Regions from separate parts of the Homo sapiens genome. Here region 1 is linked to region 2. Evidence: promoter capture Hi-C in 16 types of primary human blood cells and fetal thymus (Javierre and others, 2016). All regions are on one chromosome and are shown on one strand. Each heading gives the region's core, a stretch centred on a gene start or on the middle of the fragment in contact. The rest is flanking DNA. Distances are from core to core; before and after follow the strand shown. Region 1 overlaps ANAPC10 (anaphase promoting complex subunit 10). Region 2 holds the start of HHIP-AS1 (HHIP antisense RNA 1).

Region 1 (7,267 bases), core at 3,178-5,677, 440 kb before region 2:
AATATTCCTGTAAATATGATTAAATTGAACATCTTTCACTGTTTGATCTATTAGTATGACTAGACTGGTGCCATATTGTGTCAGTAATGAGATACAAATCAGTGCTAGTTGAACTCCTTTGGTAAAGTTTACCTTCCTTGGTAAACTAGCACTGAATCGTACCTCATTACTATCACAATATTGCACCAGTCACTGGTTTGAAGAGAGCAACACATGTCACCAGTTTCCTGAAAATGCCCCACTGCTCTGACATCTTGGAGGTGCAGAAGAGATCAATAGTTACTGCTACTAGAGGAGTGGCAGGATCACTTAAAAATGTGTTGAGTATGAAATTCATGAAGTTCAGTAGTGCAATGTCATATGTCTTACTTCATGTGATTTTGAGCTTTGAGTCTATCAGTGAAATATCATTATATGATTAGCATTTTACATATTAAGAATGACTACTCTTTATAAACAGGAAACTGCATGAGAAAGTGATTGCTCGATCTTTGCTTCTCTAGGGTCAGATATTTTTCAGTTTAAGTCAGCAGATAGTTGCTGAGATTTGTAACTCAAACTTGTTAGAGATTGAAAGACAAAAAAGACACAATCTTTACTGTCAAGGACTTCACAATTTAGTGGAGGAAGTATAGCTTTAAACTATTACTACATAATGTAATAATTAATAACTTTTATTTAGTGCTTACTAAGTGATAGATGCTGTTCTAAGAACTTTACATGCATAAAATAACCAGTTATCTCAGTAAGGTTTTCAAAAGTTATATATGAAGTTGTACTATTTCTTTTACCATTTTCCAAATGAGGAAACTAGTACAGAAAGATTAAGTAATTTGACAAAGATCACATGATAAGCAGGAAATTCTGGAATTCAAGACAGACTCCATTACACAATAGTGCTTTCCACTAAATATGGGCTCAGTGTAGAACTAGCCCAAAGAAGAAAGTGATTTACTTTGCTTGAAACGATCATGGAAGTCTTCATGGAGATGATGCTTATTCTGTATGATGAAGCAAGAATAAGATTTCACTAAGGACATAAAAGCAAGGGAAATGGGACAGTTAGCCTTCCATATCTGTAGGTTCTAATTTCATGGATTCAACTAACTGAGGGTTGAAAATAGTTGGAAAAAACCCACAAAAAATAACAATACAACAACAAAAATAACACAAATAGAAAAACAACACTGTACAACTTTTTACATATTTACATTATATTAGGTATTATAAGTAATCTAGAGATGATTTGAAGTATACAAGAGGAGCCATTTTAAATAAGGGACTTGTGCATCAGTGGATTTCGTTAACCACAGAGGTCCTGGTACCAATCCTCGTTGGATGCCAAGAAATGATAATATGTGCAGAGGTATACAACTTAAACAAAACATGGCTTAGTCAATTAATTTCATGTAGTAAATGAGACTAGAAATAGGGAAATGGCGTATGTGAAGCTGTATAGTTAGGTAGAAGCCTGATTATAGAAGACTTTATTAAACAATTCATACTTTACTGTATAGATAATATGAGCAGTTGAAAAGGTAAGTAACAGAGTAAAACAATCAGTGTTTGTTCATATTTGAGAAGTGTGGAGGATGGATTGAAGTGAGGCAAGATTAGAAATAAAAAGGAAATCAGGAGACGCGATAAATCAGATAGGAAGTGATATAAAGGAGAATTTTAAGAAATTTTCAAAATGTTAATGTCAGTCTTTGGGAGATACAGATTTACTTGCCTGCTACAGGATGGTAGGTGGCACATGGCTTTGCAAAAATCTTTTTGTATCTTTGAAATAATGGTTCAATATTTCATTCAGATTAAAGTTGGAATGTGTTTAGTAGATTCAGCTTAGTTGAACACACACCACAAAACAATCTTACAATTCAGCACAATTGTTAGTCTCTACCTAAGAGACTGGAAAAACAAAAGAACAAATTTGTGTTATGACTGCTACCGTATAATAGGGTCTTTTAAAATAATTTAATCATTTCATAAGCACCAAATTAATCCAATGTTGAAAAACAAATTTAGGGGAAAAATAAGTACATCTGCTGTGCTTAACTCTATATTTGATACAAAGAAGGGATTCAGTATGGCTGTATTTTGTGAACATCTTACAGGGCTTATATGCTATTTGTTCCCTGTTTTTTTTTGAAGACATTGAGTTAATTCTTAGAAGGTTAATGGGATGTTGTAAATTCTGTTTTTCTTAAAATAAAAATCACTAAATTTTTATTGAAGTTCATGCTATAACTGACAATTATGGCCTTTGAGTTAAAGGATTTCTGAGTTGAATAGTGATATTTGCTTTGCAGAAAATAAGACAGCAATATAATAGAAAGTAACTTTAAGTGGGAGGCTACATTAGTTTGTGGGATTATGGAAGGCCTCTTTTATAAGTGAAATTTGCACAGAGACATGAATGTTAAGAAGAATTCATTGTGCAAAGATTTCAGAGAAGAACTTTCTTGACACCAGGAAGTTAGTTCAAAGGCTCTAAGTTAGTTGATTTGGCATTTTAGAGGTTCAGAAAGAAGGCTATAGGGGCTGGAGAGCAGTGAGTAAGGAGGAGAAATGGTAGAGTGGATTGGAAATGTAATTAGACATGGTGGGACAGATTATATGAACTCTTGTAGGCCCTGAAAAAGAGTATTGATTTTAAGTACAAAGGGAAACCACTGGAGGTGTTAAGCAGGAGAGGAAGATGATCTGATACAGAATTTTTAAAAGATGACTGTGTCCACTGTGGATAATGGTTGATAGTGGCATAATGGTGAACACCAATGGAGGAAATGATGTTATAGTAATTTATGTTAGAGATGATGTTGATTTGGACTAGGATTAAGAACTGTTGATATGGAAAGGAATGATGGCTTTGGGATATATTTTTAGAGGTGGAATAATTACGATTCACAGGAGGAAACCTTCAGAGTGACCTTTCTGGCAGAACAACTCATACTGTTTCCTGAGTTGAGAAAGAAGGAGGGAGTGGAGGGAGTAAATAGATTTTGGGTCAAAAAATAAATAATTTAATTTATATATGTTAATTTTGCAATGCCTATTTTTCTAGTTGAAATGTTTAGTAAGCAATTGACTGTAGAGGCTGGGAGCTCTGCTTGAAGTTCTGGGTTGGAGATACAAATTTGAAGGTCATCAGTGTGCCAATGATATTCTAAGGGAACTGGACTAACTCATCTAGGGAGAGAATTTAGAGAAAAGAATAAAGCTTTGGGACACTTGAAGATGAAGAGATCTGGCAGAATAGTGGAAGAGGTGTCAACAAAGGATACTAAGAAGTGGCTAGTGAACTAGGAGGAAAACCAAGAGAGTGAGAAATCATGGATAGAAGTCAAGAGGAAACAAGTGTTTCAGGAAGTTAGTTAATTCTTCATTTCTCTTTTATTTTTATTCTTTGAGGTGGAGTCTCGCTCTGTTGCCCAAGCTGGAGTGCAGTGGTGCGATCTCAGCTCACTGCAACCTCCACCTCCCGGGTTCAAGTGATTCTCCTGCCTTAGCCTCCCAGGTAGCTAAGATTATAGGTGCGCACCACCACACTCAGCTAATTTTTTTTATTTTTAGTTTAGACAGGGTTTCACCATGTTGGCCAGGCTGATCTCAAACTCTTGACCTCAAGTGATCCGCCCACCTCAGCCTCCCAAAATGCTGGGATTATAGGCATGAGTCATTGCGCCTGGCCTCATCTCTTTATTGTTGTACTAATACTTCATATTATAATCTATTTGCTTAAATCTATCAGTGCTGTCCATTAGAACTTAGTGCACCATGCAGTGAGGTAACTACTAGCTACATGAAACTATTGAACATTTGAAATGTTACTACTGTTACTGAGGAACTAAATTTTTAATTTTACTTCGTTTAAATGTATATAGCCACAGTGTAGGTCTAGTGCATGATATGGATGAACTTCTCTACAGAGACCATTTGTATCTATCTTTAGGTCTTCATAGTTAAGACATTTGCCTCAGTTAAAATAGCCCCCTAGCAGAGCCTAAGGAGGTTGAGGCTGCAGTGAGCTGTGATCGTACCACTGTACTCCAGCCAGGGCAACAGAATGAGACCCTGTCTCAAAAAAAAAGAAAAAAACAGCCCCTTAGCAAATGTGAAAGTAGTTGTGTTAATAGATATGCTTGAAAGGAAAATGACTGTTTTATTCATAAAGGCAGTCTAAGCTGGGCTGCTCAAATATGTCTCTAGTGGTGTTGTGTTAGTGCTCTTGCTCCACTAATGCTGCTTAACGAACAACCCTAGTCTCTCAGTGGCATGATCAGCCAAATTTACTTTGTGCTTTGGTGATGGCTCGGCTTTAGGCTGTGAGTCAGGTTCAAGTCTGCTCCATTTGTCCAGGCATATTCTCTTAGTGGAGTGCAGAGCATTCAGAAGACCAAGCCAGACTTTGCAAGCACATTTACCGCCTCTGCTTGTGTCACAGTGTATTGACTGAAGTAAGTCATGATTTAGCCCCGTTATTGACTGGAGTGCAGAATCGTATCCCTCCCATGGAGAGTGGGGAGAGAAGCATGAATATTTACCAAACAATAACAATAACCATAGATGAATACTGATTTTCTTTTCTTTAGGGCAGTTGCTCTCACCAGGGGATGCTTTTACCCTCCAGGGTACAAAGTCTGGAGATATTTTTGATTGTTGTGATTACTGGGGACATGAGGGTGGGGGGAGTTGGGGAGTTGGGGGAGTGTTTCTATTGGCATCTAGTGGGTAGAGCCCAGGGATACAGCTAAATACCTTTCAATGCACTGGACATCCCCTGTACTGAACAAAGAATTATTCAGTCCAAAATATCAGTACTGCCATGATTGAGAAACCTTGCCTTAGAGGAGTAATTCTAACATTTTAGCATGCATCAGAATCACCTAGAGGATTTATCACAACATAAACTCTCAAAAGGGCTGAGCTCTCAAAGTTTCTGATACATGTCTAGAATTCCTAACAAGTTCCCAGGTGGTAATGATGCTGCTGGTTCAGGAACGACACTGTACGAACCACTGCATTAGAGAACCAGTACATCATATAATAACTGCATTGGAGAACCAGTACCTCTTATAAAAGTTTTTTTCTGTGTAATATTGTTATTTGTGTGGATTTTCTGGATACCTGTTAAAGCAGTTATCATAGATACGTCTTTGTTTTAGTTCTTTTGTTTAAATTAAAACAATTCAGGGCCGGACACGGTGGCTCATGCCAGTAATCTAAGCACTTTGGGAGACTGAGGCCAGTGGATCACTTGAGGTCAGGAGTTTGAGACCAATCTGGCCGACATGGTGAAACCCTATCTCCACTAAAAATACAAAAATTAGCTGGGCGTGTTGGCAGGCGCCTGTAATCCCAGCTACTCTGGGGGAGGCTGAGGCAAGTCTTCACTCTTACGTCCTTCATATTTTAGACTTTTATTTTTTGAAGCTCTGCCCCCTGCAAAGGTGAGCTTCAGCCACCTGCAACAGTCACTTCTGGGAATTGCTTGAACCCAGGAGGTGGAGGTTGCAGTGAGCTGAAATCGCGCCACTGCACTGCAGCCTGGGCGGCAAAGTGAGACTCCATCTTAAAAAAAAAAAAAAAGAAAAAAAATTCAAATACAATACTGAGTGGGAAGCTTTGGAAAAGAGGTTGAGACGGGATTGGCACATAAGGAGATGTTTGTAAGAGGTTCCGTTTGTAAGGCATATTGAAGAAGCAAAAGTTGGTAATCATACTTAGTATTTCAGACATAAAGATTTAGACTAATCAGTACTTGAAGATATTAGACCTGCTTAGTTGTACTATGATACTTTCTAAGCAATAAATTAGAGACAAATTTTAAATGATCAGTTTTGAATTATAGGACATTTCTTATTCTGAATAAATTATTCAGATTTGTGTTTAATTTTTTTTTTGCATTTTAAGAACAAATACTATTTTGTTCTTTGAACCTCTTTGAGCACATACATAATAAAGTTGTGAAATGGAGGAGAAAAAAAACCTAGCTGAGGTAGCCAAAATAAAATAACTGAAAAAAAAAACCTTTTAATCAATAGAACATTAAACTGTGGAGCTTTTACGGAAGAATCGTGATTTAGTTATCCTTTACTAGGGAACTCAAAAACTAGTACTAAAAAGAAAAAGAGAGTTAAGACCTATAACTCTTTATATTGGAGGTAAAACAGTTATTTTTATTTTTATTTTTATTTTTTTGTCCGTTTCTCGCACTGTTGCCCAGGCTAGAGTGCAGTGGTACAGTCATGGCTTACTACAGCCTCGAACTCCAGGACTCAAGTGATCCCCCTGCCTCAGCCACATGAGTGCCATCACGCCTGGCTAAGTTTTTTTATTTTTTGTATAGACAGTGTCTCACTATGTTGCACAGGCTGGTAAAACAGCTTTTTATCTTGTAACTTGCATTACCTAATATTCTGGATTAGCTTTAGCAATATTGTGTAAAGAACGAAGCATGATTTGAAGCATGACTGTCCAATAGAATATGTGACGTGAAATATATATACAAGTTTCATGGGGAATTTTATAGTAGCTACGTTTAAAAGGGCTAAAAATAGGTGAAATTAATTGTAATAATATTTTTAAATCTAGTATAACTGGACTACTATTACTAATGACATATTTTACATTTTGTCCTAATCTTCAAACCAGTGTGTATTTTAACACTTACAGCACATCTCAATTTGGACTTGCTATATTTCAAGTAGCCACATGTGGCTAGTGGCTACCGTATTGGACAGTGCAGATTTAAGAGTTACGGAAGAAGTAATAGCCCAATTTTTACATTTTATCGACATATATGGCCCAGGACAGCTTTGAATGCAGACCAAATTAGTAAACTTTTTTGAAACATTATGAATTTTTTTTTTTTTAGCTCATCAACTATTGTTAATGTTAGTGTATTTTATGTGTGGCCCAAGACAGTTCTTCTTCCAGTGTGGCCCAGGGAAGCCAAAAGATTAGACACCCCTGGTCTGTGTGATCTGGCTCCTTTGATATGTCTGGCTTATTTCCTGCTTCACACCAATGTATTGCCTTAGCTCTCAAAGGACCCACTGTTGTTTTCCATGTATGCCATTTTTCTTGATTCATGACATTATATGCTTATCTCTTTGCTGAATGCCCCTGAATCTTACCATTCTACCTCTTTATCTAGCTAACTAGTAATTTGAAATTCAATGCAAAACTCATTTTCTCTGGATAAACTTCTTTTATCCACTAGTATGCACAATAAAGGCAGCAGATGCAAATTTAAGATACA
Region 2 (6,648 bases), core at 3,239-5,738:
GCCTATGTGTCTGTGTCTTATATAGGTCCTTAACTTTATTTCTGATGATGCCGTCAATCTTAAGAAGAAATTTAAGCTAATTTCCTGTTTCAATTTTTAAAAGCCGTATACAAAACCATCACAGTGGTTTAAACTAAATATACTTCAGAAATCACGTAAAACTTCGAAACATTATTACAGCATGCCTAGTAATCATTGTGGCTGTTGCTAATTTATAACATCTGGCAGGTCATCCTTTAATCTTTAGCCACACGAAAATAAAATCCATAGAAGAAGGGTAAGATAAATAGGGGATACACAGTAAAGTGTGGCCTCCAACTATAGCTTATCAACAAATAGTAAAATGGGTGACAGAGACCTTCTGTATTTCTCTTTATTTACCAAGTAACTAAACAAAGAGGGCAAAAGGCAGCCACATGGGTTCGATGAGGGGACAAAAGGAGAAAATACATGACAGTATATTAAGATGTCGCCTTAAGATCACTTGGTACACAAAAAGTTATTTCTAAAAATCATATGCCTACAAGGTTGTTCAGCTGTTGGATAGAACACATGTGTCTCTGAACTATAGTGCTGGATTATGTCATTAAAGAGTTCAGTTTCAATTTTAGGCTAATATGTAAATAGATCATTGTACTAAGGCAGCTGTTAAAGGGACCCCAGGATGAGTTATTTGTTTAGTTGGATGTGTTCAACAATAGCCTTTGTCCCTGAAAGAGCCAGAGCAAACAAATGATTGTAAAAGGGCACACTTGAAAACAATTACTTTTCACCCATTCCTTGACAGCTTTGGCTGTGAAACCACCCAAGGTAGAGAGAGCTTCTATGCCTCTGTGGCTACAAGTTAAGTTTTAGAAATGAGGGTATTTCAGTTGGTTGCAGATTCAGTTTGGTTAATAAGAATTAGATCCTTTTAGCATGCTGTATTTAGAAAGTGCGAAAATATTGCTAAGATAATATGACTTCCTAAATTTTGACAGTACTTATTTGTCATGGTAGTTAACAATCTTATTACAATATACAACATTATTAAAATATACAAAAAATTAAAATAGAGCATAATTCCATGGCTAAAGAATTGAACTCAATTCTAGTTCATTAAAAAAATTTCTTAGCCTAGAAACAGGACTTAATTGCATAGCTGAGCATGCTAATATTCCTACCTAGTTTGCTACTATCTATTTGTCTAAGAAATTTCTTCCTGTAGGAAAAAGCTACTACTGTAGTTTCTTGAAAAGCTGCAGAAATCTTTCTGGGGAATTTTTTTTTTTCTTCCATAAACAAAAAAGGGCCCTTTCAAATAGCAATCATCTCTCCTGTATACACATTATGAAATAAGATCCTAACATATATTATAATCCAGGAAGGCTTACGGGAAAAAGGGAAACACTGAAGTTTATTATAAAATAACATGTTTTAAAAACTATTAAAACTTGAAAACTAACATAGGTCAAGAATGCATATGCATAGCTATAGCAAATCTCTGTTTTGAACAATTTGGGTATTGTTGATTTATAAACCTCTTGTAATAGAACCAGCAAAAGTCTAGTGTACCAAACTTAATTCAGACACACTTTCCAAATGAGTAGGGGTTTGTTGGAGATTGGAAGCACATAAAACAGAAAGGAATGTATATAGTTAACATGGCAGATTGCTTCCTAAAGAATGATTTCTTTAAAAAAATTTTTATATAACTTCTCTTAAGGGCTATAACTCCCCTTGGTCCCATCCCCCTTCCCCTTCTCCTCACCATTTAGTCAAGAACAAAATTTTCATTCCACATGTCTCTGGAAGAGTTGAGTATTGCAGGGGTCTCTAGATCATCAGTATATTCATAGTACGTATTGCACCAAGGGAGACTTAATGGCAAATATTTCTAAACTTTTCTCTGAATTTCCTGGTTCTTTAGGGCTCCTGATAAAACCTTTAAGGTGACCTGAATATAGCTATTTTGAAACTTAATTCAGTTGCAACACAGGAGCTTAAAGACATTGCTTTGAATAAAATCCTGGAATATCTGTTCCCTGAATCTCAGGCTCCTGCTGCATATGGTAAGAATAAAAAGAGAGTTGCAGCTGAAAACCTGCAGCAAGACAGTTCTCACTCATCTGGGAATAGAAGGAGTTGGACAAATGCTCCCTCAAAAGGCATGAACATTTGGACAGAGCTGGGGACTGAAAGAGAATGATGTTCTCTAGTTTCACCCATTAGTGAACCAACTAACAAATACAATGGTGTTGTTGTTATTCTTTTGCCATAAGCAACAGGACTCTGTGTGTGGGCAGCAGTTTAGTGGGGAGGAGGATAAGTCGACCCCTTTTTGTCCTATTGATTTTTTCCTATTTGCATGACTTGAGCAAATTAAATGATGCAATATGGCTTTTTGTTACAAAACAAAGTGAGAGATACCACCCAGACACATATGTTGATTCGTAGGAGCTGTTTACATGAGAATAGAGTGAAATCTACCGTGAACTGAGCATAAAAATTAGATTCAGCCTGGGTATTTTTTTTTTTTATTATGCCTGGGCCAGCAAGACTGAAGCACAAGTTTTCCAAGAGTCTCTCAGACCTTGACAACTGGCAGTGTTCTAACAGAGGAATTCTTAATTAAACCTAAAATGGGGAAAGGGAGGGGGAGCAAAGACACCTGATTGTTTATTTCACGTGCAGTGATTGTTAATGATGTGAGCCAGCAATGATTCCTTGGAGTACAGTAGATACCACCCATGACTGCATCTCCTGGCAAGAACGATATTGCAAACTCAAAAACAAGCGTGCCTTTACAGTCAACAAACACCATGTTAGTATTTAAACTTATTAACACAAGGATAACGTAAATGCCATTACTCTTAAAACAAATTCTTAGAGTAGATCTTCCAAGACACCAACTGACCCTGAAAGTCTGAATTTATAATGTTACAAAATGACGGAGAATCGTCTCAGTTTTATGTGATAAATAACGCCCCAGCAAAATCTTTCGCCAGTTTTTTTCAGGTCCCTAACCGGAGGACCAGGAGTTCCTTTCTGTTGGTTTAACTAATGTAATGCAAGACACCCCCCTCTGACGGGGCTGGGGATCATAAACCAACCATGCTTCAACATCCTTTACGATTCAATCCTCTCCCTAACCGAGCACGTGGAGAAAACAGCACAAATCTTTTTACCCTAGAAAAATAAGCCGGAAACCACAGCCACCTTAATTTACAGTTTCACCGCAGCCAATGCCCCATTCGATCCAAAACACACTGTTCATCGCGATTCTTTTAAAATATTTACCCAGCCCAGGGTGCGGGTACCGCAGAAACGTCTGTTTTCAGAGATAGGCAAGTTTGCACAGCATCCCGACCGCGGACTCTGGGGGAGGAAATGCTACTTGCTTACCCCAGAGGAACACACAACGGAATCACGTTAGCGCTATAGAAAAGTTATGGAAAGAACTCCCCCAAAGAAGTTTTGACCTTCTTACAACCACCGGCTTTGCCAGAGCCACAGGGAACCCCACCCAGCCAATATGCCAAGTACGCATCCGTGAAGCCGGTGAGTGCCTACCTTATTCTCCAGGCGCCCTAGCCCCGGGCTGTCACTCCGCAGGCAGCAGGACAGCCGAGGGTAGAAGCCACCGCACAGCATCTCTCCCCCACTCAGCAGCTCCAGCTGGGACATCATCCTCCTGTCTCTCCTTTTCAGGCGCTTCGGGGGGTTCCCATTCAGGCACCTTCTCCTCCTTGCTCCGCTCCCTTCGTTTCTTTCCCCAAACTTAGCATCTCCTTCAAAGAAGCCCAGAGCCACGGCCAGCAGCAGCAGCTTAAAGGAGAGCATCTTCAGCATCGTCTGCCCAGAGCAGCAGGGGCTGGGCGCGGGAGGATGGGGGGGAACGCCACTGCCCAGCAGGGGCACTAGGGCGCAGCTCCAGGAGGAGTTTGCGGGGCTGTAGGGCACTCCAGAGACAGAGGGAGGTGGCGGGGACAAAAATATGTACAGCGATGCAACTTTGCAAAAAATAAAAGACGCGGCGATGGGTCCAATGCCTTAGGGGAGCCCGAGGAGCGAGATAAAGTTGTGCGGATGACACCGTTTGCAGTTGTGCCAGTGTCAGTTGGGTTGGGGGCTTTCTGCTGCGGCTGGGAAGTGGGAGGAGGAGAAGGAGTTGGAAGAGGAGGAAGAAAAGGAGAGGACAGCCACAGATGTTCACTTGTCCGTGTAACGGGAGTTGTTTAGGTGGGACAGTAGCAGGAACAGAAACGGCGACGGCGGCGGCGGGGCAGGCGGAGGCAGGGCCAGCGCTGGGCTCTAGATGATGCTGAGGTCTCCTCTGCCGGCGGCTGCAGCTTCTCACACAGCCTCTCATGTTTCGTTCCCTCTTTTCTTCTTCTTTTTAACTAGCGCGCGGGGAGGTGCTGCCACAGCGCGCCCCTTGACGTCACCGCTTCTCGCGCGCCCCCGCCCAGGGTGGAGGGAAGGGGAGGGGGCGGCCCCCGCGCGAGCGCGTCCCCCGGGCCCCGGCGGCCTCCCTGCTGCGGCGGGGAGGGGCGGCTAGCCGCGACGGCGGCGGACGGAGGGGGAGGGCCGCGAGCCTTCGGAACCAGCCTCGAGGGTGCTGAACCCCGCGCGCCCGCCTCGCCGCGGCCCCCGGGTGGGGGCGTCCACGGCCCGGGTTCCCGGCGGGCTTGGGGCAGGGACGCAGTCCGGAGATTCCGGGACTGCCCGGCTGCTGCAGCCCGCAGGCTCCTCTCTCCTCCCCGCTTCCCCTCCGCACTGCCTGGGCTAAAGGCGGCCAAGCTGAGGCTCCGAAAGAAAGTAAGTAAGAGTGGGCCGTAGGAGGTGGGAAGGGAGGGACCCCTTCCAGGGCCATCCCCACCTCAGCCCCCCGGCCCGCCCCTCGCCCCGTGGGAGGGTGAACTAAGTGGGCTGGAGCGGACGGGAGGGAGCTTTTGGGCCCCTTTGTCTCCCCCAGCCGCACTGACACCCCCATTTTCCACACTGATTTTCAACGTGAAGCTCAAGTCCTCAAAGATCTTTCTTGGGGTCTGACTTAGAGGCAGGGGGACATCCCAGATGCCGTTGAGTAGGCTGAGATGGTTTGGAGACTCATCCTCGCCGGAGGTCCTGCAAGCCACTGAAGTGGCACAGACGCGTGTGCGCGGAGTGGGGCGGTGTGTCGGGCCACAGGCCAAGCCCAAGTCGGCCTCCCAGAGTGTTTGCCACGGTTTGGGCGGGTTAGTCCCCGACGCCCCTTTCAGGTCCCCACATGTGTTCGGGAATAAGCCGGGCCCCGCTGGTACCATCTGGGAACACAAGTTCTTGGGCCGCAGGTGGACGGAGAGAGAAGCTGGGCGCGGAATTAGTGTTCGTTTTAACACACACAAACACACACACACACACACACACACACACACCTGCACGCACGCGCGCGCAGTCCCTGGGGAGAGGTTCCCCTGGGTGTAGAAACAGAGGCGTTAGATCTGGAGAAAGAATTAGATGCAAGTCTGAGGGCATCCAGAAGCGCTGTGCTCTACTTATCCCCGTGTATACAAGTAAATTAACCTTTTCCCCAGCTAGACAAAGTCTGTGTAAATAGTGTGTCTAAAAAGATGTCTACGTTATCAGGAGCGGTGACTTGAGGTTTACTGGATCCCTGCAAGTTGGCATCAGGACGAGCTTCTATAGGGTTGCCCACAAAATGCGCTTCTAGCCCACTTGGGTATTTAACAGAGAAGCTGATTTCCCAGAAGATGGGCTTTGATGAGGAGATAAGGCAGTTGTCCCATTTTGGCAATGGAGGAATGTTCACCACATTTGGGTTTGCTTCACTTGTTGGACATTGATTTCGCCAAGTGATTGCAAAAGTTGGTGATGGTTGAGGTGGGCAGTTGATTAAATTAATCACTTCTGGTCACAGTGGCTAGGTAAGGCTTCTGTCTTTTTCACTTCCTGAGCCTGGATATTAGTGAAGTTAGGTTTTTCCCCAAAGAGATGACACATCAGAATAACTGAAAAGAATCTGCTAGGATGTTTGGCCCAGTCCTCAGCTAAATGTAGAGCCCCCATGACATATTTAACATTTTCCCCAGGGGCTGTTGTATACACATGACTTCTTCATGCATGTGATTGTAAGTCCACTTTGGATCTCACATACTTTTTTTTATCTGACATTCTTTCTGCTTTGAGGACTTTTAATATAAAATTAATCAGAAAGCAGTAAGCACTTTAAGACTTTAAACTCATTAATAGATCTCCAGATGAATCTCATCAAATTTAAATCACTTGCACAATTTCATCTCATTAGGTAGTTTGAGAATAAGGACTCGGATCCAATCTGGGGTGCTTTCCACTATCTAACCCTTTCTTCCCAAATTCCAGTTTTATATTCTTTTTCCAAAATAAAAGTCCTTCTAAAATCGTATTTCAGTAGTTTGAGCTCCTACTCTGATAAATTCCTGTTAGTAGTTTTGAAACAGGCCTTTCTTATGGCTTATACTAAGGCCACTTAAAGGTAAATTTATTTTGGTTTTAAAATACTATGCATCTGTTATAACCTACGACCCTAAGATATAGAAAGTTTATAAAAGATTACTGAAATAAGACATGCTTGTTATTTCTTGATATATGGAAATTAGAATTGATTTCATATACTGTTTGTCCTGA

What was found. The method cuts DNA at HindIII sites, captures the fragments that hold promoters and counts their contacts. A CHiCAGO score of 5 or more calls a contact.
Region 1: a fragment that was not itself captured here is called in contact with the fragment with the promoter of HHIP-AS1 in region 2 in 1 of 17 cell types (fetal thymus); the score reaches 5.3 in fetal thymus.

What each region holds. Positions count from the first base shown.
Region 1 is chr4:145,084,192-145,091,458 of GRCh38, reverse strand. All of the region lies in intron 2 of ANAPC10 (anaphase promoting complex subunit 10), which reads left to right. Among named protein-coding and RNA genes, the nearest start is that of ANAPC10, 10 kb to the left of the region's middle. The HindIII fragment of the contact is 2,403 bases long and covers 3,226-5,628 here.
Region 2 is chr4:144,643,859-144,650,506 of GRCh38, reverse strand. It overlaps HHIP-AS1 (HHIP antisense RNA 1), which reads left to right and starts at 4,488. Exons shown (of 2, transcript NR_037595.1): 1 at 4,488-4,800. It overlaps HHIP (hedgehog interacting protein), which reads right to left and starts at 4,351. Exons shown (of 13, transcript NM_022475.3): 1 at 3,553-4,351. The coding sequence starts at 3,831. RefSeq lists enhancers at 333-969, 1,992-2,580, 3,821-4,386. The HindIII fragment of the contact is 14,814 bases long and covers 1-6,648 here.